Linked DNA regions of Homo sapiens: region 2 is linked to region 1. The links are contacts of gene promoters, found by promoter capture Hi-C in blood cells and fetal thymus (Javierre and others, 2016). All regions are on one chromosome and are shown on one strand. The core of a region is centred on a gene start or on the middle of the fragment in contact, and the rest is flanking DNA. Distances in the headings are between cores, read along the strand shown. Region 1 holds the start of NLRP9 (NLR family pyrin domain containing 9). Region 2 holds the start of DPRX (divergent-paired related homeobox).

Region 1 (5,976 bases), core at 1,501-4,000:
CACATTTTTCATCACAAAACACTATGCTATTTATTAAAAAATTTTTTTTTTTAGACAGAGTCTCATCACTCTGTGGCCCAGGCTAAAGTGCAGTGGTGTGATTGTGGCTCACTGCAACTTCCACCTCCCGGGTTCTAGTGATTCTCGTGCCTCAGCCTCCCGAGTAGCTGGGATTACAGGCGTGCACCACCACGCCTGGGTAATTTTTGTATTTTTAGTAGATAGAGTGTCTCACCATGTTGGCCAGGCTGGTCTCGAACTCCTGACCTTAGGTGATCCGCCCACCTCAGCCTCCCAAAGTGCTGGGATTACGGGTGTGAGCCACCACGCCTGGCAAAACCCTATGCTATTTAATTGAATGGATTTATCATTATATTATTCACTTTCTATATTTGCCCATAGTAAACATTTGCTGACCTCCAAGGTTTTTTTTTGAGACAAAATTCATAAGCAAGGTTATTTAAAACTGATGATTCACGCCTGTAATCCCAGCACTTTGGGAGGCTGAGGTGGGTGGATCATGAGGTCAGGAGATCGAGACCATCCTGGCTAACACGGTGAGACCCCATCTCTACTAAAAATACAAAAAATTATCTGGGCGTGGTGGCAGGCGCCTGTAGTCCCAGCTACCTGGGAGGCTGAGGCAGGAGAATGGTGGGAACCCGGGAGGCAGAGCTTGCAGTGAGCTGAGATCGCGCCACTGCACTCCAGCCTGGGCGACAGAGCGAGACTCCGTCTCAAAAAAGAAAAAAGTCATGTCATGTCTTAGAGATTTTTATAACATTTAGGACCTCAGTGTCCCAAGTGAGAAACTCTCAGTTCAGACACTGACTCGGTCATTTTTTCATCTGCCAACATAGAACATTAATCAGCAGAAAAGTCAAAGACACGAACCACACAGATAAAGAAAACTGGCACACACCTGTAATCACAGCACTTTGGGAAGCCCAGGCAGGAGGATCATCTGAGGTCAGGAGTTTGAGACCAGCCTGACCAACATGGTGATACCCCGTCTCTACTAAAAATACAAAAATTAGCTGGGCGTGGTGGTGCATGCCTGTAATCCCAGCTACTCGGGAAGCTGAGGAAGGAGAATCGCTTGAACCTGGGAGGCAGAAGTTGCAGTGAACCGAGATCATGTCACTGCCCTCCAACCTGGGCAACAGAGCAAGACTCCGTCTCAAAAAAATAAAACAAAAACAAAAAAAAAAACAAAAAACTAACACAGCAAGCAACTCCAAACCAAATAAAATACCCTCAAGCATGTGGGGATACGAAATAAGGTCTCAAATTAGAATTACCAACACAAAGAAGAAACATGAACAAAACAGAAGTAAACGTAACAGAAGTTGATGGAACTCAAAAGTAAAGGGAGAAGATAACAATCATCAGAAACAAATGCTAATTACTAGATACCTAATAGGGAATATATTTAGTTTTTCCTAAGTATCCCCCGAGAGGAGGGTGTAGACCCCATCAATGAGTCCAGCAGAACTGGTTCGGAGTCAGATCTGTCACTTTTGGAAAAGTCATGTAACACATGGGAACACTGTTTTGTCCAGTTTTCTCACTTGTAAACCTTTCCTGGGTTGTGATAAGAATGAAAAGACATTATGCAGAAAGAATGCTTCCAGGACGTGAGGACAACCTGGCTGTGATGTCTGTCACCCCATTGGTCGCCCCAGGGCTAATTCGGCTGATGTGGCCAGCTGGGTGGGTGTCCACTTCCTCCCTCACTGCTCCATATGCGTCCGTCCTGAAAGTCTCCCCTGGGTCAAAGACGATGACAACCTTTGCCCATAGAGGAAGGTCCTTCCATCGCGGGCAGAAGAGAAGCTGTGCTCCCCTACTAGAACCTCCAAACAAGCTCGCAAGAATGCTTCCTGTAGTACCCGGGACATACGCTGTCTGATTGTCTTAAGATTCTACCTACTCCTTGGTACATGTCTGGTCAAAAAGGACAGGCAGTTAGGCATGGTGGCTCACTCCTGTAATCACAGCACTTTGGGATGCCTAGGCAGGTGGATCACTTGAGCCTGGGAGTTCAAGACCAGCCTGAGCAACATGGCAAGACCCTTTCTCTAAAAAAAAAAAAAAAAAAAAAAAAAAGATAGGCAACTACCATACTAGAATTCCATCTCAGTAGACCTGGCAATGCAGACACTAACTGGCCACTCATCTCCTATAACAACGACTCCACTTGGGGTGGAAAAATGGGAAGACACTCCATAGGTGAACAGTTGGTATCAGGACGCCATCTGTCCCCAGTTCATCGCTGGCCCACATATGAACAGCCCTGGCCTGCAACTCTTCCTACCTTCAACTCTCACCTTGACCCACACACATTCTCATCTGATGGAGGGGGTGGCCACTCATTTAACAATGCTATCACCTTGTTCCCAGGCTTCCCCCATGGGTCCTCGCCCCATCATCCAGCACTTACTTCTCATCTCTTCCTGAGCCTTTGTCCAGAGATCTTTCCTATTGATCTGTAGAAACAGGTTCAGTGTTACCTCCCATGCCTGCTTTCCTGGGTAATGTTTGTCCAGCAGCTTTGCTACATCTTCTTTGGAGGCCTTCTTCAGCTCAGCCCAGGGGATTGGCTTGAGTTCAAATTTCTCCAAAGGTTGTTTGAGGAGCTCCTTAAATTTCCAAAACTCTTCCTTTCTGAGCTCCTTCAGATACCACAACAAGCCAAAATCCGAAAAAAAAGATTCTGCCATATCGCCCCAGGATTGTGAACTGAGGTGTCTCCAGAGGGAAAAGAAAGATCCTCAAAAATAAAGAATAAATGATACCTGGAGAAGAATGACATGATTACAGAGTTAAGCTTCAGCAGCTGAAAGCAGCTCAAAATTATTGATATCATCATGCGTAGCTTGCACCAAACATCATCTAGGGAAGAAGCTTCATCTTTTTCCAAACAAATGCATGTGAATGGTAGAGTTGACTGCCACTTATGTGTCTTGTTTTTGTCTGACATAAATGATGCTTCCAGGAACAAGTGTTTTTGTGTAGTTTGGTGTATATAAGCACACATTTCTCTAGATTTATAAATTATAGGTCAAACAGCAAACACAGGTCACCATGTTTGCTACATAACACTCAACGGTTTTCCCTTGTGTATATAATTACTGACATTCCTACCAGCATTCTATGAGTTTGTTTGCTCTGTAGACCTTCCCATCCTTAGTATAGTCTAATCCAATTTTGATAATGAAAAAATGAACGGATATTAAAATTACAGATGATCACATTCAGGAAGATGAAAATAAAGGAAGAGGACATAAAAGCAAATTTAAATTTTTTTTTATCGTTTAGTGGTATATGCCTTCTTTTTTTTTTTTTTTTTTGAGACAGAGTCTCGCTCTGATGCCCAGGCTGGAGTGCAGTAGCGCAATCTCGGCTCACTGCAAGCTCTGCCTCCCGGGTTCACGTCATTCTCCTGCCTCAGCCTCCTGAGTAGCTGGGACTACAGGTGCCTGCCACCACACCCGGCTAATTTTTTTGTATTTTTAGTAGAGATGGGGTTTTACTGTGTTCGCCAGGATGGTCTCGATCTCCTGACCTCGTGATCCACCCGCCTCGGCCTCCCAAAGTGCTGGGATTACAGGCATGAGCCACCGTGCCCGGCCGGTATATGCCTTCTTATTACAGTATATAAGGAAAAAGTTAGATTTACTATAGGTTAGCATCTGCAGACAACTCAGACAGAAACAGAGCAGTGAACGTTCCCAGTATTATAAACCCTTCAGATAATCATTGCAATTCAACAAAAGACAGGAAATGAAGTAGAAATATATGGTAGACAAAATAAGACAGGTGGCAAAAATAATACCAAATATATATAGATATGTATTTTGAGATAGAGTTTCACTCTTGTTGCCCAGACTAGAATGCAATGGTATGACCTCAGCTCACTGCAACCTCTGCCTCCCAGGTTCAAATGATTCTCCTGCCTCGTCCTCCCAAGTAGCTGGGATTACAGGCACCTGCCACCATGCCCGGCTAATTTTTTTTTTTTGTATTTTTAGTAGAGATGGGGTTTCACCATGTTGGCCAGGCTGGTCTCGAACTCCTGACCTCAGGTGATCCACCTGCCTCAGCCTCCCAAAGTGCTGGGATTATAGGCTTGAGCCACTGCGCCCAGCCTAAATATAATCTTAACACATATGAATGAAATAAAATTGCTCACTAATATATAGACTCACATTGGATAAATACAAATCCTGCTATATGCTGTTTATAAGAGAATCCTAGAAAATACACAGAGAAGTAAAACAGAAGAAGAAAAAGCCTGGCAAATTCTTACCCAAAAAAGTATTAATAGTATAAAATATCAGCATTGAAAAACACTCAAGCTAGAAAGCACTAAATGGACTAAGAATTTTTGAACACCAAGATTCAGTTCCCCAAGATCTAGAACTCATGAGCATATGTGCACCTGGGAATACCACTTTACACATAAGGAGATGATGACAAACGCAATATCATTGTATCTGAGCTAATATACCTTTCAGATAATTACAAACCATTAGCAAAGGTTACATACCATCTATGGTCACATGCAAAAGAATAAACTTGGACCCTTAATACCATAAACAAAAATTAATGCAAAATGGATTGAAGAAGATCTAAATGGAAGGCCCAAAGTATAAAACTCCTAGGAGAAAATGTAGGGCAGAAGCTTCCAGACACAGATTTGGTCTGGATTATTTCTTGAATATGACATGACACAGACAAAAGAAAAAAATAGACAAACTGGACTTTATAAAAATTTTAAAATTTTGTGCATCAAAAGACAGTATCAGCCAGGTGCGGTGGTTCATGCCTGTAATCCCAGCACTTTGGGAGGCCGCAGCAGGTGGATCACTTGAGGCCAGGAGTTTGAGACCCATGGCCCACATGGTGAAACCCTGTCCCTACTAAAAATACAAAAATTAGCCAGGCGTGGTGGCAGACACCTGTAATCCCAGCTGCTCGGGAGGCGGAGGCTGCAGCAAGCTGAGATCACACCGCTACACTCCAGCCTGGGTGACAGAGCGAGACTCTGTCTCAAAAACAAAGACGATATCAAAAGAGTAAAAAGTCAACCAACAGAATGGGAGAAAATATTTGCAAAGCATGTATCTCACAGGGATTAAAATCCAGATTACAGGGAATGCCTAAAACTCAATAACAAAACAATCTTATAACAATGAGAAAAGGACTAGAATAGACATTTCTCCAAAGATATACAAATGGTCCATAGCCAATAAGCACATAAAAAGAGGCTCAACGTCACTAACCATTAGGGAAATACAGATCACAACTACAATGAGATAATCCTTCACATCCACTAAGATGGTAACTACAAAAAAAAAAAAATTCAAAACAAGTGTTGATGAGAAGGTAGAGAAACTGGAACCCTTGTATCCTAGTGACGTATAAATGTTAAATGGTTCAGCCACTGTGGAAAACTGTATCATATTTCCTGAAAAAATAAGAACAGAATTACTGTAGGATCCAGCAACCCCAAAGAATTGAAAGCAGACTCTCTCAGAGTTATCCGGACACTCATGTTAATAGGAGCATCAGTGACCCAAGTGTTCATCAACAGATGAATGGAAAAGTGAAATGCAGTCTATAAATACAGTATTATACAGCCTTAAAAAGGAAGGATGCTGGGCCCGGTGGCTCCTGCCTGTAACCCCAGCACTTTGGGAGGCTGAGGCGGTTGGATCACCTGAGGTCAGGAGTTCGAGACCAGCATGGTCAACATGGTGAAACCCCGTCTCTACTAAAAATACAAAAAAAAAATTAGCCAGGTGTGGTGGCAGGTGCCTGTAATCCCAGCTAACTCAGGAGGCTGAGGCAGGAGAATCGCTTGAACCTGGGAGTCGGAGGTTGTAGTGAGCAAAGATTGCGTCACTGAACTCCACTCTGGGCGACAGAGCGAGACTCTGTCTCAAAAAAAAAAAAAAAGGAAGGAGTTTT
Region 2 (5,976 bases), core at 1,430-3,929, 2.1 Mb before region 1:
AAAAAAAAAAAAAAGAGGAATGAGATACCGACACATTATACCATGAGGATAAACCTTGAAAACAACATGCTCAGTAAAAGAAGCCAGCACACAAAAGGTTACATATTATATAATGTAATTTTATTTTAGTTTTTGAAAAGCTGGTCTCCTGGGCTCAAGCGATCCTCCCTTCTTGGCCTCCCAAACTGCTGGGATTACAGGTGTGAGCCACTGTGTCCGGCCTATGATTTTTTTTTTTTAATGAAATACCTGGAAAAGATAAATCCAGAGAAACAGACGGCAGATTACAGGCTCTTTTTAAATTGGTTTCTGACACTATCACAAGATAAAAATGTGGTTTAAAATTGTTGCTTGGTATGTCTTATTCACCTCTAAAGATATACTGTTCATCAGGCCGGGTGCAGTGGCTCACACCTGTAATCCCAGCACTTTGGGAGGCTGAGGCGGGAGGATGGCTTGAACCCAGGAGTTCTAGGCTGTAATGTGCTCTGCCAATTGGGCATCCACACTAAGTTCGGCATCAATATGGTGACCTCCCACCAGGTTGCCTAAGAAGTGGGGAAATGGTCTAGGTTGAAAATGGAGCAGGTCAAAATTTTCATGCTGGCTGGGCACAGTGGCTCACACATGTAATCCCAGCACTTTGGGAGGCCAAGGCAGATGGATCACCTGAGGTCAGGAGTTTGAGACCAGTCTGGCCAACATGGTGAAACCCTGTCTCTACTAAAAATACAAAAAAAAAAATTAGCTGGGCATGGTGGCATGTGCCTATAATCCCAGCTATTTGGGAGGCTGAGGCAGGAGAGTTGCTTGAACCCAGGAGGCAGAGGTTGCAGTGAGCCGGGATCACGCCACTGCACTCTAACCTGGGCGACAGAGTGAGACTCCATCTCAAAAAAAAAAAAAAAAACTTTCATGCTGATCAGTAGTGGAATCAGCTTGTGAATTGCCCTCCAGCCTGAGCAACACAGACTGCCTCTTACTAATCCCAGCACTTTGGGAGGCTGAGGTGGGAGGATGGCTTGTGCCTAAGACTTTGAGACTAGCCTAGCCAAAATCCCTTCTCTACAAAAAATGCAAAAATTAGCTGGGTATGGTAGTGTGCACCTGTAGTCCCAGTTACTCAGGAGGCTTAGGTGAGAGGCTCACCTAGGCCCAGGAGGTTAAGGCTGCATTGAGCTATGATTTTGCCACTGCACTCCAGGCTGGGCCTAGGCCTTTGTAGTCACAGCTACTTGGGGGCAAATGTAGGAGGATCACTTGAGCCCAGTAGGTCGAGGCTGCAGTCAGCTGTGTTTTTTGAGACATAGCAAGACCCTGTCTCAAAAAGAAAAAAAAAAGTAGCTACAAGCTCATTTATGCAAAGGCTAACCACTGTCACAAGTAGAGATGTGCAGAACTGAGATTCAAATGGATGGAATGGCAAGAAAAACTGCCACTTCTGTGAACCTGAAGTCAAACTGCCCTTGTCGTCAAGATAAAAGGTATACATGGTGTGAGCCTGGGCATCTGAAAGGTGTTGCAGCTTTTTCTTTTATTTTTTTGAGATGGAGTCTCACTCCTGTCACCCAGGCTGGAGTGCAGTGGTGCGATCTCAGCTCACTGCAACCTCTGCCTCCTGGGTTCAAGCAATTCTCCTGCCTCAGCCTCCTGAGTAGCTGGGATTACAGGTGCCCACCACCACACCCAGCTAATTTTCGTATTTTTAGTAGAGATGGGGTTTCGCCATGTTGGCCAGGCTGGTCTCGAACTCCTGACCTCAGGTGATCCGCCTGCCTCAGCCTCCCAAAGTGCTGGGATTACAGGTGTGAGCCACCTGTAATTAGCCAGGCTTGGTGGTGGGTGCCTGTAATCCCAGCTACTGGGAAGGCTGAGGCAGGAGAATTGCTTGAACCTGAGAGGCGGAGGTTGCTGTGAGCCGAGATCGTGCCACTGCACTCCAGCCTGGGTGACAGAGTGAGACTCCATCTCTAAATAAATAAATAAATAAATAAAATGAGATGATTTCTGAGTGAGTTAACTAAATCAGGATATGCAGAACAATGCCAAGCATATATTAGCCACTAAAGAATATATAAGTTGCCTGAAAGCCCCTTTAGGGTTTAAACCTGGACTTCATTATTCACAATCACATTCCCGGTCCCCATTACGGAGCCTGGTCACCTGGGTGCTTGTTAGATATGGAAATCATCAGATCCCACCCCAGACCGAGTCAGAAACGTTGAGGGCAGGAGTTCAAGACCAGCCTGGCCAACATGGCGGAAACTCCGTCTCTACTAAAAATACAAAAATTAGTCAGGAGTGGTGGCACAGGCCTGTGATCTCAGCTACTCGGGAGGCTGAGACATGAGAATCCCTTGAACCTGGGAGGCAGAGGCTGCAGTGAGCCAAGATGGTGTCATTGCGCTCCAGCCTGGGTGACAGAGTGGGACTCTGTCTCAAAGAAAAAGAAAAAAAGAAAAGAAATTGCAGCTTCTGCTCAGGAAGTCTGGAGTGGGCCAGGATTCTGCATTTTAACAACTCCCAGGAGTGTTAGTGGGGCTGGTTTGTGGACTCGCCTTTGAGTCGTTGGTCTCCGCTCAATCAATATTAGATAAAATGACAGTATTGGGAGAAATCCAGGGGGCTCTGGAGGACCGAGGGATCATATTGGAGGCAGATAGGGCAGAGAAAGGTGGAGGAGGTGGGAGTCGGGTGTGGCTGTGGAGGAAGCTACTTAAATCCGGATTTGATCTTTGCTAGTTCTTATCCCTGGACCTGAACCCAGGCGCACATCTGGATTAGAAGATGCCAGGCTCAGAGGATCTTCGTAAAGGTAAGCCAGAAAAAATGAGAACCGAAGCAAAGACACGTGAAGAAGTGGAAAGCAGCTGGCGGCGGGAAAAGGCAGAGGGACCAGGCGGCCGAAGCTGGTGCTTCGTCCACGTGGGTGGCAGGGACTTCCCACAGAGGCTGTCATCGTTTTTGTTGTTGTTGTTTTGTTTTGTTTTGTTTGTCTTTTGAGACAGTCTCACTCTGTCGCTCAGGCTGGAGTGCAGTGGCACGATTTCGGCTCACTGCAACCTCCACCTCCCAGGTTCAAGCAATTCTCCTGCCTCAGCCTCCCGAGTAGCTGGGATGACAGGCACACGCCACCACACCTGGCTAATTTTTTTTTTTTTTGTATTTTTAGTAGAGCCGGGGGTTTCACCATATTGACCAGGCTGGTCTCGAACTCCTGACCTTGTGATCCGTCTGGCTCAGCCTCCCAAAGTGCTGGGGTGACAGGCGTGAGCCACTGCACCCGGCCCAAGTTTTGTATCTTTATAGAGATGGGGTTTCACCATGTTAGCTAGGTTGGTCTCAAGCCCCTGACCTCATGTGATTGGCTGGCCTCGGCCTCCCAAAGTGCTGGGATTACAGGCATGAGCCTCGGTGCCCGGCCGCGGCTGTCATCTGACAGCACAGGCAAATGCAGGGAAGCCTGTTTCTGCCTTCAAATCCGAAATCTTCTCCCTCGTAGTTGTGTCCTAATTCTTCCCACCCCGATGCTTGTTCTTGAGCACAGGGGAATCTGATTCCTATGAGGATGATTAGGTCCTAGATAGAATATAGGCTTAGCCAAGCTGGAAATCTCATGTTCATGAGCACTTACTAGACTCTGGAGCTGCTGCCAAACCATTTTCAGGCATGATGCGATTCAGATCTTTTAGAGCGAGGCATGCGGTGGCTCATGCCTGTAATCCCAGCACTTTGGGAGGCCGAGGTGGGCAGATCGCTTCAGCCCAGGAGTTCAAGACCAGCCTGGGCAACAAAACAAGACGTTGTCTCTACAAAAAATACAAAAATTAGCCGGGCATGTCAGTGTTGTGTAGTTCCAGCTACTCGGGAGGCTGAGGTGAGAGGATCGCTTGAGCCTGGGGAGGTTGAGGCTGAAGTGAGCTGTGATCATGCCACTGGGCAACACAGCAGTACACTGTCTCAAGAAAAAGAAAGTAAAAGGTGACATCCGTGACAGCAGTGATGTTATTTTTCTGCTTATTTCCTTGCTATATTCCTAAAAGAATATACTTAATGAACATTGAATAAATGATAAGAATAAAACCATGTCCATCCATTTCACCTTGGATTGAGTTGCCTATTTCTACACAAAGAAAATAGAACCCAAGAGGTAAGGCACAAGCGATCCCTTATTTACGTATTTATTTATTTATTTATTTATTATTTTCTTGAGACAGGGTCTCCCTCTGTCTCAGGCTGGAGTGCAGTGGCATAATCTCGGCTCACCACAGCCTCTGCCTCTGAGGTTCAAGCGATTCTCCTGCCTCAGCCTCCCGAGTAGCTGGGACTACAGGCGTGCACCATCACGCCCAGCTAATTTTTGTACTTTTAGTAGAGACAGGGTTTCACCATGTTAGCCAGAATGGTCTTGATCTCTTGACCTCATGATCCGCCCGCCTTGGCCTCCCAAAGTGCTGGGATTACAGGCATGAGCCACTGTGCCCGGCCAAATTTTTGTGTTTTTAATAGAGATGGGGTTTCACCATGCTGGCCAGGCTGGTCTCAAACTCATGACCTGATATGATCTGCCCGCCCTGGCCTCCCAAAGTGCTGGGATTACAGGCGTGAGCAAGGGATCCCATATTTAAATGATAACAGAAAAAAAGGATGGAGGAACCAAGGGGGAAAGGAACAACCTTTTCCTATGAAAATGACAAATGAGGCTTGGAAAAACAAGGACAAAAGGCAGATCAAGTTGTCCTCCCGCTTCAGCCTCCCACAGTACTGGGACTGCAGCCTGAGGCACGACCCCGGCCAGCAGTGTCTCCATATCTAAGAACCTCAGTCACGGCCGGGCACAGTGGCTCACGCATGTAATCCCAACACTTTGGGAGGCCGAGGCGGGTGGATCACCTGAGGTCAGGAGTTCGAGACCAGCCTAGCCAACATGGTGAAACCCTGTCTCTGCTAGAAATACAAAAATTATCCGGGCATGGTGGCGTGCGCCTGTAATCCCAGCTACTCGGGAGGCTGAGGCAGGAGAATCGCTTGAACTCAGGAGGTGGAGGTTGCAGTGAGCTGAGATTGTGCCACTGCACTCCAGCCTCGGTGACAGAACCTCAGTCACTTGATCATCACGTTGTACCTCAGTGGAAAGGAAAGGAAAGCTCAGGCTTTTGAGAATGGAGTTGTTAGCATTTCCCATTTGTGTCTTTTTCCTCCTCTTTCAAGGCAAGGACCAGATGCATTCACACAGGAAACGAACCATGTTCACTAAGAAGCAACTGGAAGATCTGAACATCTTGTTCAATGAGAACCCATACCCAAACCCCAGCCTTCAGAAAGAAATGGCCTCGAAAATAGACATACACCCAACAGTACTGCAGGTTGGAAAATGATCCCTCTTCTCACTAAACTGCCTTCCTGATCTAATCTAAATTCAGAGTCCCTCTAGGATAATTCCTGAGGTCTCATTCCAATCGCCAATATTCCCCAAACCCACACTCTCCTACTCACGTCCCCGTAAACCTTTCTTCAACCCCCTAGAGCAAGAATGGGAAAATTTTTCCAGTAAAGGACCAGGTAGTAAATAATTGAAGCTTTGTGGGCCATACCGTCTCTCTAGCAACTATTTTAACTATGCCACCACAGTGCGAAGGCAGCCACAGACAACGTAAACAAGAGGCCCATCTGTGTTCCCAGAAACTCTTTTACTCAGGTTGGAGCACGGTGGTGCAATCACAGCTCACTGCAGCCTCGACCTCCCGGGCTCAAGCAATCCTACCACCTCAGCACCCCAAGTAGCTGGGACTACAGGTCTACAGGTGCACACTACGCCTCCCAAAGTGTTGGGATTACAAGCATGAGCCCGGCTGTATTTTATTTTTTGTAGAGATGGGGTTTCGCTATATTGCCCAGGAGGCTGATCTTGAACTCCTGGTCTCAAGTGATTCACCTGCCTTGGCCTCCCAAAGTGTCAGGATTATAGGCATAAGC

What was found. Contacts are between HindIII fragments. The CHiCAGO score rates a contact against its expected background, and 5 or more counts as called.
Region 2: the fragment with the promoter of DPRX here is called in contact with the fragment with the promoter of NLRP9 in region 1 in 1 of 17 cell types (monocytes); the score reaches 5.8 in monocytes.

The regions. Positions count from the first base shown.
Region 1 is chr19:55,735,652-55,741,627 of GRCh38, forward strand. NLRP9 (NLR family pyrin domain containing 9) reads right to left here and starts at 2,751. Exons shown (of 9, transcript NM_176820.4): 1 at 2,444-2,751. The coding sequence starts at 2,723. It also overlaps the pseudogene RN7SKP109. The HindIII fragment of the contact is 10,494 bases long and covers 1-2,828 here.
Region 2 is chr19:53,629,320-53,635,295 of GRCh38, forward strand. DPRX (divergent-paired related homeobox) reads left to right here and starts at 2,680. Exons shown (of 3, transcript NM_001012728.2): 1 at 2,680-2,815; 2 at 5,212-5,366. The coding sequence starts at 2,788. It also overlaps the pseudogene RN7SL317P. The HindIII fragment of the contact is 17,175 bases long and covers 1-5,577 here.